Linked DNA regions of Homo sapiens: regions 2 and 3 are each linked to region 1. Evidence: promoter capture Hi-C in human tissues and cell types (Jung and others, 2019). All regions are on one chromosome and are shown on one strand. Each heading gives the region's core, a stretch centred on a gene start or on the middle of the fragment in contact. The rest is flanking DNA. Distances are from core to core; before and after follow the strand shown. Region 1 holds the start of CCR10 (C-C motif chemokine receptor 10). Region 2 overlaps RETREG3 (reticulophagy regulator family member 3). Region 3 holds the start of MLX (MAX dimerization protein MLX).

The links. The method cuts DNA at HindIII sites, captures the fragments that hold promoters and counts their contacts. A contact is called where the count stands out against the background at its distance.
Region 2: a contact is called between a fragment that was not itself captured here and the fragment with the promoter of CCR10 in region 1, in 2 of the 25 tissues and cell types used here (dorsolateral prefrontal cortex and lymphoblastoid cells).
Region 3: a contact is called between the fragment with the promoter of MLX here and the fragment with the promoter of CCR10 in region 1, in 1 of the 25 tissues and cell types used here (dorsolateral prefrontal cortex).

Annotation. Positions count from the first base shown.
Region 1 is chr17:42,680,173-42,683,454 of GRCh38, forward strand. It overlaps CCR10 (C-C motif chemokine receptor 10), which reads right to left and starts at 1,671. Exons shown (of 2, transcript NM_016602.3): 1 at 1,628-1,671; 2 at 1-445. The coding sequence starts at 1,651. It overlaps CNTNAP1 (contactin associated protein 1), which reads left to right and starts at 2,359. Exons shown (of 24, transcript NM_003632.3): 1 at 2,359-2,724. The coding sequence starts at 2,658. RefSeq lists enhancers at 1-673, 1,892-2,510, 2,454-2,503, 2,764-2,813 and a silencer at 1,059-1,353. The HindIII fragment of the contact is 6,302 bases long and covers 1-3,282 here.
Region 2 is chr17:42,585,332-42,588,540 of GRCh38, forward strand. RETREG3 (reticulophagy regulator family member 3) reads right to left here. Exons shown (of 9, transcript NM_178126.4): 3 at 2,503-2,533; 4 at 1,434-1,560; 5 at 722-806. Among named protein-coding and RNA genes, the nearest start is that of PSMC3IP, 9.2 kb to the left of the region's middle. The HindIII fragment of the contact is 8,959 bases long and covers 1-3,209 here.
Region 3 is chr17:42,565,850-42,569,089 of GRCh38, forward strand. It overlaps MLX (MAX dimerization protein MLX), which reads left to right and starts at 1,251. Exons shown (of 8, transcript NM_198204.2): 1 at 1,251-1,317; 2 at 1,770-1,806; 3 at 2,621-2,710; 4 at 2,988-3,094. The coding sequence starts at 1,276. It overlaps COASY (Coenzyme A synthase), which reads left to right. Exons shown (of 9, transcript NM_025233.7): 9 at 57-428. The coding sequence ends at 119. RefSeq lists enhancers at 1-9, 10-516, 723-772, 1,530-2,037, 1,913-2,002 and a silencer at 1,113-1,512. The HindIII fragment of the contact is 10,895 bases long and covers 1-3,240 here.

The sequences.
Region 1 (3,282 bases), core at 421-2,920:
GGCCGGGAGTGGAGGGCCGCGGCCCGGCTGGGAGCGCTCGCGCGATGGCCACGTAGCGGTCGGCGCTGATACAGGCCAGGAAGAGGAAGCCGGCGTGGAAGGAGGCCGAGTAGAGGCCAGAGATGGTGCGGCAGGTGGCACTTCCCAGACTCCAGCCCTGAAGAGCCCCTGCTGCCGCGAAGGGCAGAGTCAGGGCCAGCAAGAGGTCGGCCAGGGCCAGCTGGAGCAGGTGGGCAGAGGTGGGCGAGCGCGCTGCGCGTCGGGCTGCCAGGTGGGTGGCCAGGACCAGGCCATTGCCGGCCAGACCCAGCGCAGCCACGGTCAGGGAGACACTGGGTTGGAAGGCCCGGCTGAAGGCCTGGACATCGGCCTTGTAGCAAAGCTCCGGCAGTGGCTCAGCCGAGTATGCGTCCTCTTCATCCCCAGAGTAATGGCCCCAGGAAACCTGGGAGGGTCAAATGAGAGGCGGGATCTTATGAGACACATCTGACCACACAACTCCCCCGCCCACACTTGCCTTCCAAGCTGAGAGCTCCTGTGTGGCCAGATGTAACAGTACACGGGGAGACATAAGCTCTTCTCCAGACTCTTCCTAGCACACCTTCAGCAGGCCTTGGCTTCCCTTGCACCCCTCCTACCTCTGCTTCCAGCTTCCTGGGTGACCTTGAGCAAGCCACTTGCTCTTTCTAGACCTCAGTTACCTAACCTGTAATGTTGAGATTATAAATCCTGACCAGCCCACCTCTCAAGGTTTGCTGTGAAGATGGCAATATGGAAAATAATGGATGGGGAGAACCTGTGTTCTCCAAAGGCCATAATACAAAGTTTGTATTATTATTATTATTTATTATTATTATTATTGGAGACAGAGTCTTGCTCTGTCGCCCAGGCTGGAGTGCAGTGGCACGATCTCGGCTCACTGCAACCTCCGCCTCCGGGTTCAAGAGATTCTCCTGCCTCAGCCTCCCAAGTAGCTGGGACTACAGGCGCCCACCACCACGCCCAGCTAATTTTTGTATTTTTAGTAGAGATGGGGTTTCACCATGTTGGCCAGGATGGTCTCGAACTCCTGACCTCAGGTGATCCGCCCACCTTGGCCTCCCAAAGTACTGGGATTACAGGCCTGAGCTACCACGCCCAGCCCAAAGTTTGTATTATTAATAAATCCTACAGCTTCAGTTCCCTTTGCAGCGCCCTCTCCTGGAAGGATGCCCATATGCAGGCTTTGCCTCAGACCTGAGCCCTGGACTCCAACCTCCGTCTGGAGTGGGTTTCTGTTTCTCTTCTTTCCCTTCCATACCCACCTTCCCTGTACCTCCAATACCAGCACACTGAACCACTCATGCCAAGGGGGTCTCCAGGGTTGGGACTCAGGTTTTCAGGGCCCAGGTGGGACCCTGGACCTCTAGGTTCAACCCGCCTTTCCCCTCAGCCCTAGTCCCTGTCCCACAACCCCAGCCTCACACCACCAGCCCATTTATCTGGAGGACCCCTAGTCTGAGACAGCGCCAAGAATCCTGAATAAGCCATAGGATGGCAGAGGCCCATTGCCAGGTGGGGAATCCCATTCCTTCCCTGTCTCCTCCCTCTCTGTAACCCTTCTCCCCCTCCCTGCCCCCACTCCCACCTGCTCTGTGGCCTCCGTCCCCATCTCTGGCTACACAGGTTTCTGAGGTATAGCCACAGGGGGTAGAAGTTAAACTACTAGCGGGACAGGAAGGAAGAGGCGGGGAGAGGGGCCGAGAGGGAGGTGGGGATTAGGGTCTACGGGGTCACTTTCCCATTCCACCTCCTCCAAAAGACTTCACTCTCTTGTGCAGGATCTGGATTTTACGAAAAAAAAAAAAAGAAGAAGAAAGGAAGGAAAGAGGAAAGAAAGAAAGAAAGAAAGAAAAAAAGGAAGGAAAGAAAGAAAAAAGAATGAACGAAAGAAAGAAAAAATAATTTACTGTCTTTGTCAGTGAAGAAAGAACGGGCTTCGGAATATAATCATTTGCTGTGTGATATTGACTAAGTTTCTTGACCTCTCTGAGCCTGAGGTTTTTCATCTGCAAAGTGGAGTAGGGCAAAAATGCTAAATTCACAGTGCCCAGCACCACTCCTAGAGCATAATTTGCCTTCCGAAAATGTTAAGATTCTTTTACTTACCCTTCATTCCATTTCCAGGCACCCCTCCCCCAAACCACCTCCCTTTTCTTGAAATTTTCAGGATGCTTCTGGCCCTAGGTTCCCTGTCCTCACTCCTGTGGCCCTAGTCCCGGGCAGCCTCGGGTTACTTGGGGTTTTCCCGGTGGCGAGAGGCTCTCTACCCCCGCCCTTTCGCAGCAGGGCTGAGGCACGCGCTTGCGCGGGGTCCGGGAAACCGGCGCGTGCCAGGAGACAGAGGCTGGGGAAGGGGGGAGGTGAGAGGAAAGAGGGTGGAAAGGAGAGGATAGAGAGAGAAGAGCGGAGGACCAGGAACCAGAGAGAGAGAGAGAGAAAAGAGAGAGGAGAGACAGAGCGCTTGGGGGCGAAAGGAGAGAGGGAGGGAAGGGTGGGTAAGGAGGAGAGAGCGGTCTGCTGCAAACCCCAGGAGGAGAGCTTGGAGCCCAAGCCAGAACTCGAGCCCTAGCCGGAGCCGTTCACAGGGAGGCGGCTGCCGGGACCGTCAGCCCTGCATGATGCATCTCCGGCTCTTCTGCATCCTGCTCGCCGCGGTCTCAGGAGCCGAGGGCTGGGGCTACTGTGAGTGTTGGGCTTGGAGGCAGGTGGGGTTGGGCCCAGGAGTCCAGAGCCTGCAGGGCGGCCCCGAACCGCATTGCGGCTGGGTGGTCGCGGGTCCTTCCCGGCCGGCGCGCGCCCGCTGGCTCTCATCTTTTCCTGCCTCTCCCCCGCGCTCCGCATTGCAGCTCTGAGGCTGCCGCGCGCGCCCGGGGCTGGGGCTGGGCTCTGGGAAGAGGATGAAGTCAGCGGGCAGGGATTTGGGGTTGGGATCCAAGCAGGAGCTGGTGCCTGGGTTTGAGGCTAGGGCTGGGGGATAAGTGTATACTGGTGACCGATACTAGGATTAAGGTTTTGCCAGGGCTTAAGGCTGGACTTTGGAGCTGGCCAAGGGGTGGGGTTTGTGGCTAGGGCTGGGGTTTGTGGCTGGGGCTGGGTTTTGTGGCAGGGATCCAAGCAGGAGCTGGTGCCCCTGACTGATGCTAAGGCTGGACATGGAGCTGGTGATGGTGCTAGCACTGGCTGAGGTTGGGTGCAAGGCCTGTATTTGGGGATGGTGCAGGTTTTGGGGGCCGAGTTGGA
Region 2 (3,209 bases), core at 494-2,993, 95 kb before region 1:
CTGCTATTGGTCCTTAGGGCTTGGACACAAAGTGTGGAACAGATCTGCCCAAGTCTGCCAGTCATCTTCACCAGTCTCCCCTACACATGAAGGAGTCTTTGAGGGCAGGGACTTCTACAGCCACCCACAAAGCCTACTGCAGGGTTGTGCACAGCACAGTATGCTGCTGACAGGCCAAGGGCAGAACCTGGCAATGGGTGTCACTGAGCCATAAATGGAAATTACACAACAAATCATGCGAGGTTTTGATATACAAAAGCCACAGGCATAAGTACTTAGTTCTTCCAGCCCCAAGCAAGCTGAGTACATGCCAACAGGAAGTAACTAAATTTACAAAACTATGCTCCAAGTGGGAAAAAAGTACTCTGGCATAAATAGAACCTAGCAGAGAAACCCCTAAGAGTTATGTTCTGCTGACAATACCCTGGCTCTAAAAATTCTCTCCTTAAACAGGGACAGGCAGTCCTTTATAGTTGGTAATACCAACAATATATGTTAGTGGACCCTCATCAATTTCTGACTTGGTAAGAAATGAACTTTGTATGTGGAGAGCCTGCTAAAGAAGGATATTTTCATGACACTAAACAGGTCATGAAAATATGCAAAGGTCATATCCTAGAGAATTGAAATATAACAGTCCTCTCCCCACACCTAGAGTTAGCCATAGTTGGAAAGCTATGAGCAGGGTATACTTTGTAGGGGAGGTATATGTCATACTTACGCATCAAGTAGGACAGCAGAAGCCCAGGGACGTAGCGGCCCAAGACAGCCAAAAAGGTCAGTATCCCACAGCTCAGCAAGCAGAACTGGGGAATCAAGAAAGAGTATTAAGTTTCTGTCACATGGCAGGGGACTGGGGTGGGTGTGAAGGGTTAGGGTAGAGATATGACAGAAAGACTCTGTAAGTCAAGCATGGACGTGCAGCCACTGTTGCATCCAAAGGTGATTCTGTTTGGGAAGAAAAGGAGCATGTCCCCTTCTATTCAAACTCCTTTTACATGGCTAACCCCATAGGGCTGCACCTTTCCTGCCAAGAAATTGGTTTGAATAGGACTTAGCCAAAAATTCTCTCTGAAAGCAATGTTGGTGGTGGTTTTTTAAGTCAACAGAAACACACACAAAACCCAAAAAAACACAACAACCTATCACATATTTAATATGACACAGAATGTACACAAGAAAGCTTTCTTTCCTATCTTGAAGCAAGAAAACGGCCTCATCTAAGTGGCAACCACACCAAATGAGCAGTCACCAAGCTCCTGTGTTAGTCCTAATGGCTGGTCAGAAGGCCTTTCCTATAGCTTCCTTTTGTCTCTATGAACATCATAGTCTTTACTTTCTTGAATGAAGACACATAGTAAAGGAGCTGTTTCAGTTTAGCATGAACTGAACTGAGAGGCCAGAGATGAAAGTGAAAAAGGGAAGAGTCTTACCTTGCCTGGGTTTTGCTTTTTGAAAAGCAAAACATTCCTTATGAAAATGGTCCCACTAACCCAGACTTCAGCTACATGGTGGCAGAGCTCGGGCACGCTGAGCAACCGAGGGTGCACAAAGCCCCAGCTATGGGAGAGAGAAGGGGGAGCTGTGAAAGGAGGGTGTTGAGGGTCCCCCCATCTTGCTGTGCAGGCAGCCAGTGCTTCCGGTTTTAAATGGGGTTTGGGGAGTGACTAGGCCCAGGTGCTTTGGAGGTGAAGCATGACTTTCTTCTTGGCTCACCAGGTTGAAATCTGAATTTAGGTACAAGGAGGACAAACTTGTTCTGACAACTCCACCCTATGAGCAAGCAGCCCAATCCACGTGTGTAAACCTGTCCCCAGCTCCAAGGCCCTTTGTGCTTAGAAACGTTTTCTTCCTTGCACTCAGACCATTCCAATTCCCTGTGATTGCAATCCAGGGATAAAAGTGAGCATAGTCTGACTGACACCACTGCTGCTAAGGGGGAGGAAATGGTGGATGTGCCCCTTAGAAAGAAAATAAATAAAGCAAAACCAAAATAAACCACAGCAGAGAAAATTCTTTGGATCAAACAAATGGAGTGGATGAACTGAGAAATGAAAGCAGGAGCTGTAAGACACAAGAGGAATCTTTGGCTTTGACTTGCTGATGCCAGGAACCAATGTGTTTTCTGACCGGGAACTTTAAATAGCCAGAGGTCACAGAAAACACTAAATGACCTGGTATAAAAGCCAGGAGACAAATGAAGTTAGCTGCCTTTAAGTTTTCTCACTGGGACTGAATAATGCAGCTGATTCCCTGGCATGTCAGGTTATGGGGCACTGTAATGCTTCTTTTTCAGAAACTTCTCTTGTAAAGATCAGAGGACACAGGCCATCTCAACATATTGCTGCCTGAACTTTAGGATGTGTTAAAATGATCATTTGGAACAGCCTAGGTTCTCAGTTTACACTGTGTGTCCAGAACATGGGGTTAACAACATGTAACCAGAATATTACAAGAGAATGAATCAGAGCAACAAAAAGGGATTTAATTAGTGTTCCATACCTCTCATTGTCTAATGCGTCGGGTCTTGGCACTACAATATTAAAACAAACACCAGCATTAGTTGGTAGGGAAAACTAAACATGAAAATGTTAGGCTGTTGGTCTGACAGCTCAAGTTTTAATAGGTTGGGGAAAAGAAAACAGTAATAGCCGATAAAAAAGGAGACACTGTGTTATACTGCCAGTTAGGGAGCTGCAGACAAGGGAATAATCACTTATGCCTACTCATTTTTCGAGGGGAAGGAAGGGAGGTCCAAATGGACTATTTGAGCCCCCTTCTAATGACCTCAGCTGAAAGCCAAGGTGTACAAGAAAAATGGTCCATCTCACCCCTTGAGTGTGTCTGGGATACCCATACACATCAATCTGTGCCAGGCTACACAAGGTACGTTGTAACAACTCCAACCCTAGAAATCCACCTGTTGTGTTTATTTTTTTTGAGACAGAGTCTTCTCGCTCTGTTGCCCAGCCTGGAGTGCAGTGGCACGATCTTGGCTCACTGCAAGCTCCGCCTCCCATTCTTCTGCCTCAGCCTCCTGAGTAGCTGGGACTACAGGCACCCACCACAATGCCCGGCTAATTTTTTTTTTTTTTGGAGACAGGGTCTTGCTCTGTAGCCCAGGCTGGAGTGCAGTGGCGTGATCTCAGCTCACTCAGCCTCCCGAGTAACTGGGATTACAGGCACACGCCACCATACCTGGCTAATTT
Region 3 (3,240 bases), core at 1-2,500, 110 kb before region 1:
GTGGGTACTGCCTGACCCTGCCCTCTCTTCCTCCCAACATCCTGGCCTGTCTGAAGGTGGAGAAAGCCTGGGCCCTCTTGCAGAAGCGCATTCCCAAGACTCATCAGGCCCTCGACTGAAAAGTTCTCAGTGGGGCCAGACTGGCTCCTGGAGCTGACAAGCGACCCCGTGGTGAGGAGAAATGGGGGCCTTGATGCTCACCCTGGTTCAGGCCCAGAGGTCCAAGCTATACTGTGCAGGACATGGCCAGGCCTGGTGGACACAGGAAGCCTACCCAACACGCTGGTATTTGGCCAACACTGAGGATGTGGTTCATGGGGGAGCAGTCCCCTCCCCACTCTTGCCCATGGGTGACTCTTACCCACAGCTGACTAGGGCCAGCGCAAATACTGGAACCTGTAACAGAATTAAAGGTGAATGTTCTGAGATGTTGCTTGTATGGTGTCTGCTTCCTGTTCCAATGCCCCTAAGTATCTTTGGGATCCTTAAGCCACAAGTGCAGGGCCCAGGCCTGAGCTGGAAGCCTGGGCAATGCAGTGGTTAAGAGAATGGCCTTTGAGGCTAGCCAGAGGCGAGCTTTGGCCCTCCCACTGACCAGCTGTGTTCTTCTGAGTAAGGTGTAGACTTTCTAGGTACTGCCGTGTTTTATTGTTTTTGTTTTGTTTTTAATATGAGAGGCCGCATAACCTAGCTAGCAGGTTCTTTGCAAGGGTTCATTCCACATGCATCCTGCCAGACACTGGGCTGGGTGTTGGAAGATCAGCCTTCCGCGCGCCAGGCGGGGCCTCTGCCCTCACAGAGCTTGCAGCCTGGTGGGGTCGGACGATGTGGCTGGGGGCTTCTCTGCCCGGTTCCTGACACACCGGCCAGCAGTGCAGGTCCGGTGAGCGCGGGGAGGCCGCCCTCAGGGTAACGTGGGGAGCCGGCCGGCCGGACAGTGCGCGTGCACACACTATCTGCGGCGGTGTGCTGACAAGCCAATTGAGGGGACTCCATCTTACAAAACGCGCTTCATGTCGCCGCCATTCCACTGCCTAACCCGGGGAGGGCAGGCACGGCGGGGAGCAGTCTCGAAGGAGGCTGGCGCCAGGCCAAGCGCCGGGCCTTGACGGCTGGAACCGTGGAGTAAAGTCTTTGGGCTGCGCATGCGCGATGCTTCGCCCTGCCCCACCTCTCGGTCGCGGATTGGCGGGCGCGGGTCACGTGGGCACGCCACCCGCTTCCTCGCCGCAGGGGGCCCGCCCGCTGGCCCGTTTCCGGTCCGGTGGGTACAAGATGACGGAGCCGGGCGCCTCTCCCGAGGACCCTTGGGTCAAGGCAAGCCCCGTGGGCGCGCACGCCGGCGAGGGGAGGGCGGGTCGGGCTCGTGCACGTAGGGGGGCCGGAAGACGAGGGGCTTCCCTCCTGTCCCCAAAGTCCCCCACGCTCTCCGTGCCCCGGGGCTGCAGAGAAGACAGCTCTCACCCCGCGTGTGCCAAGGTGGGGAGACAAACGAGGCGTGTGCGCGCGAGTCGGGGGAACGGGGCACTGGGGTGGAGTAGGGGCGGAAGGGATCATACACAGGGGAGGCACTCGCACGCCCTAGCCTGTGCCAGTCTCGGGGGACTCATTAAGCTGCCCGCGCACCCCGGGCTGTGTGTGTGCAAGCGCGCAGGGTGACAGAGGCGCCTTCCCGGAATGGGGGGCGCGCTGTGCGTGCCTGCAGTGGAAGGGGCGCCTCCCCCTAGGGGCGGAGGTCTGACGGGCCCTTCCCGTGCTCTGTGCCGCAGGTGGAGTATGCCTACAGCGACAACAGCCTGGACCCCGGTGAGTAGCTGCCCCATCTTAAGCTCTAGAGGGACACTCCCGCCCAGGCTCTCTAGATTCTTGTGGCGTTGCCAACCACGCCTGAGCACAGTCCACTCTCCCTGAGCAGAGTTCCTGGCTTGAGACAGCAGGAGCTGAAGGACAAGGGCAGAAAACAACTGAGGGTGACACCTAGTTCCCTCTGCTCTGGAACAGGGAAGTGGTGGAACTGATCACTCACCACTCAGTGGAGCAGCTGATCACTCACACCCTCATCACGTCCACATGCCCGTTTGTGAGCCAGGGGGGTATCATGCAGGCCTATGGAGCAGTGTAGACACTAGGGAGCAGAGCACTGCAGCGTGGTCTGGCAGGAAGTGGGGGGCCCAGTATGGTTGGCTTTGGGTTGAAGGGAAGAGGTCAGCATTTAAGAAAGCCATTGTGTGGCCGGGCGCGGTGGCTCACCCCTGTAATCCCAGCACTTTGGGAGGCCGAGGCAGGCGGATCACGAGGTCAGGAGACCGAGACCATCCTGGCTAACACGGTGAAACCCCGTCTCCACTAAAAAATACAAAAAAATTAGCCGGGCGTGGTGGCGGGCGCCTGTAGTCCCAGCTACTCGGGAGGCTGAGGCAGGAGAATGGCGTGAACCTGGGAGGCGGAGCTTGCAGTGAGCCGAGATCGCGCCACTGCACTCTAGCCTGGGCGACTGAGCGAGACTCTGTCTAAAAAAAAAATAAATAAATAAAAGAAAGCCATTGTGTCCTACAGGTGTCTGAGGGTCTGGCAATGTTCCCCACCCCACCCCTTAGTGATTGGGGCCTCTCTTTTCCAGGGCTTTTTGTAGAAAGCACCCGCAAGGGGAGTGTAGTGTCCAGAGCTAATAGCATCGGTTCCACCAGTGCCTCTTCTGTCCCCAACACAGGTAGGCAGTAACATCCCCCCCGACCTCGGGGGGCTCAGATATGTCATAATTGTAGTACCTTTCCTAGACAGGGAAGCCCCAGCCATCCACACAGGGGTGCTGGAGCCAAAGTATCAGACACAAGGTCTCACCATCTTTCACCTCATCTGGAACATTAGGTGGTTCTGTCCATCTGCCTTCTCTGGACACCAGGTTCTTCCCAGCTGGGGAAAGGTGGGCTAGCTGGACCCCACTGGGCCCCAAGATGACCTTTCCCTGCCCCCATCTCTGAGCGTAGATGATGAGGACAGTGATTACCACCAGGAGGCCTACAAGGAGTCCTACAAAGACCGGCGGCGGCGCGCACACACTCAGGCTGAGCAGAAGAGGAGGGACGCCATCAAGGTGAACAGGGAGGCCTGTGCCTCAGCCAGTGCGGGAGGGCCCTGCATAGTTTAGCTTCCCTGTGCCCTGACCCACTCAGACAGTCCCAGGCACCCTAGGGGGTGGGCAGGTAGTATAGTCCCAGGCACAAACACCTCCCTTGCAGC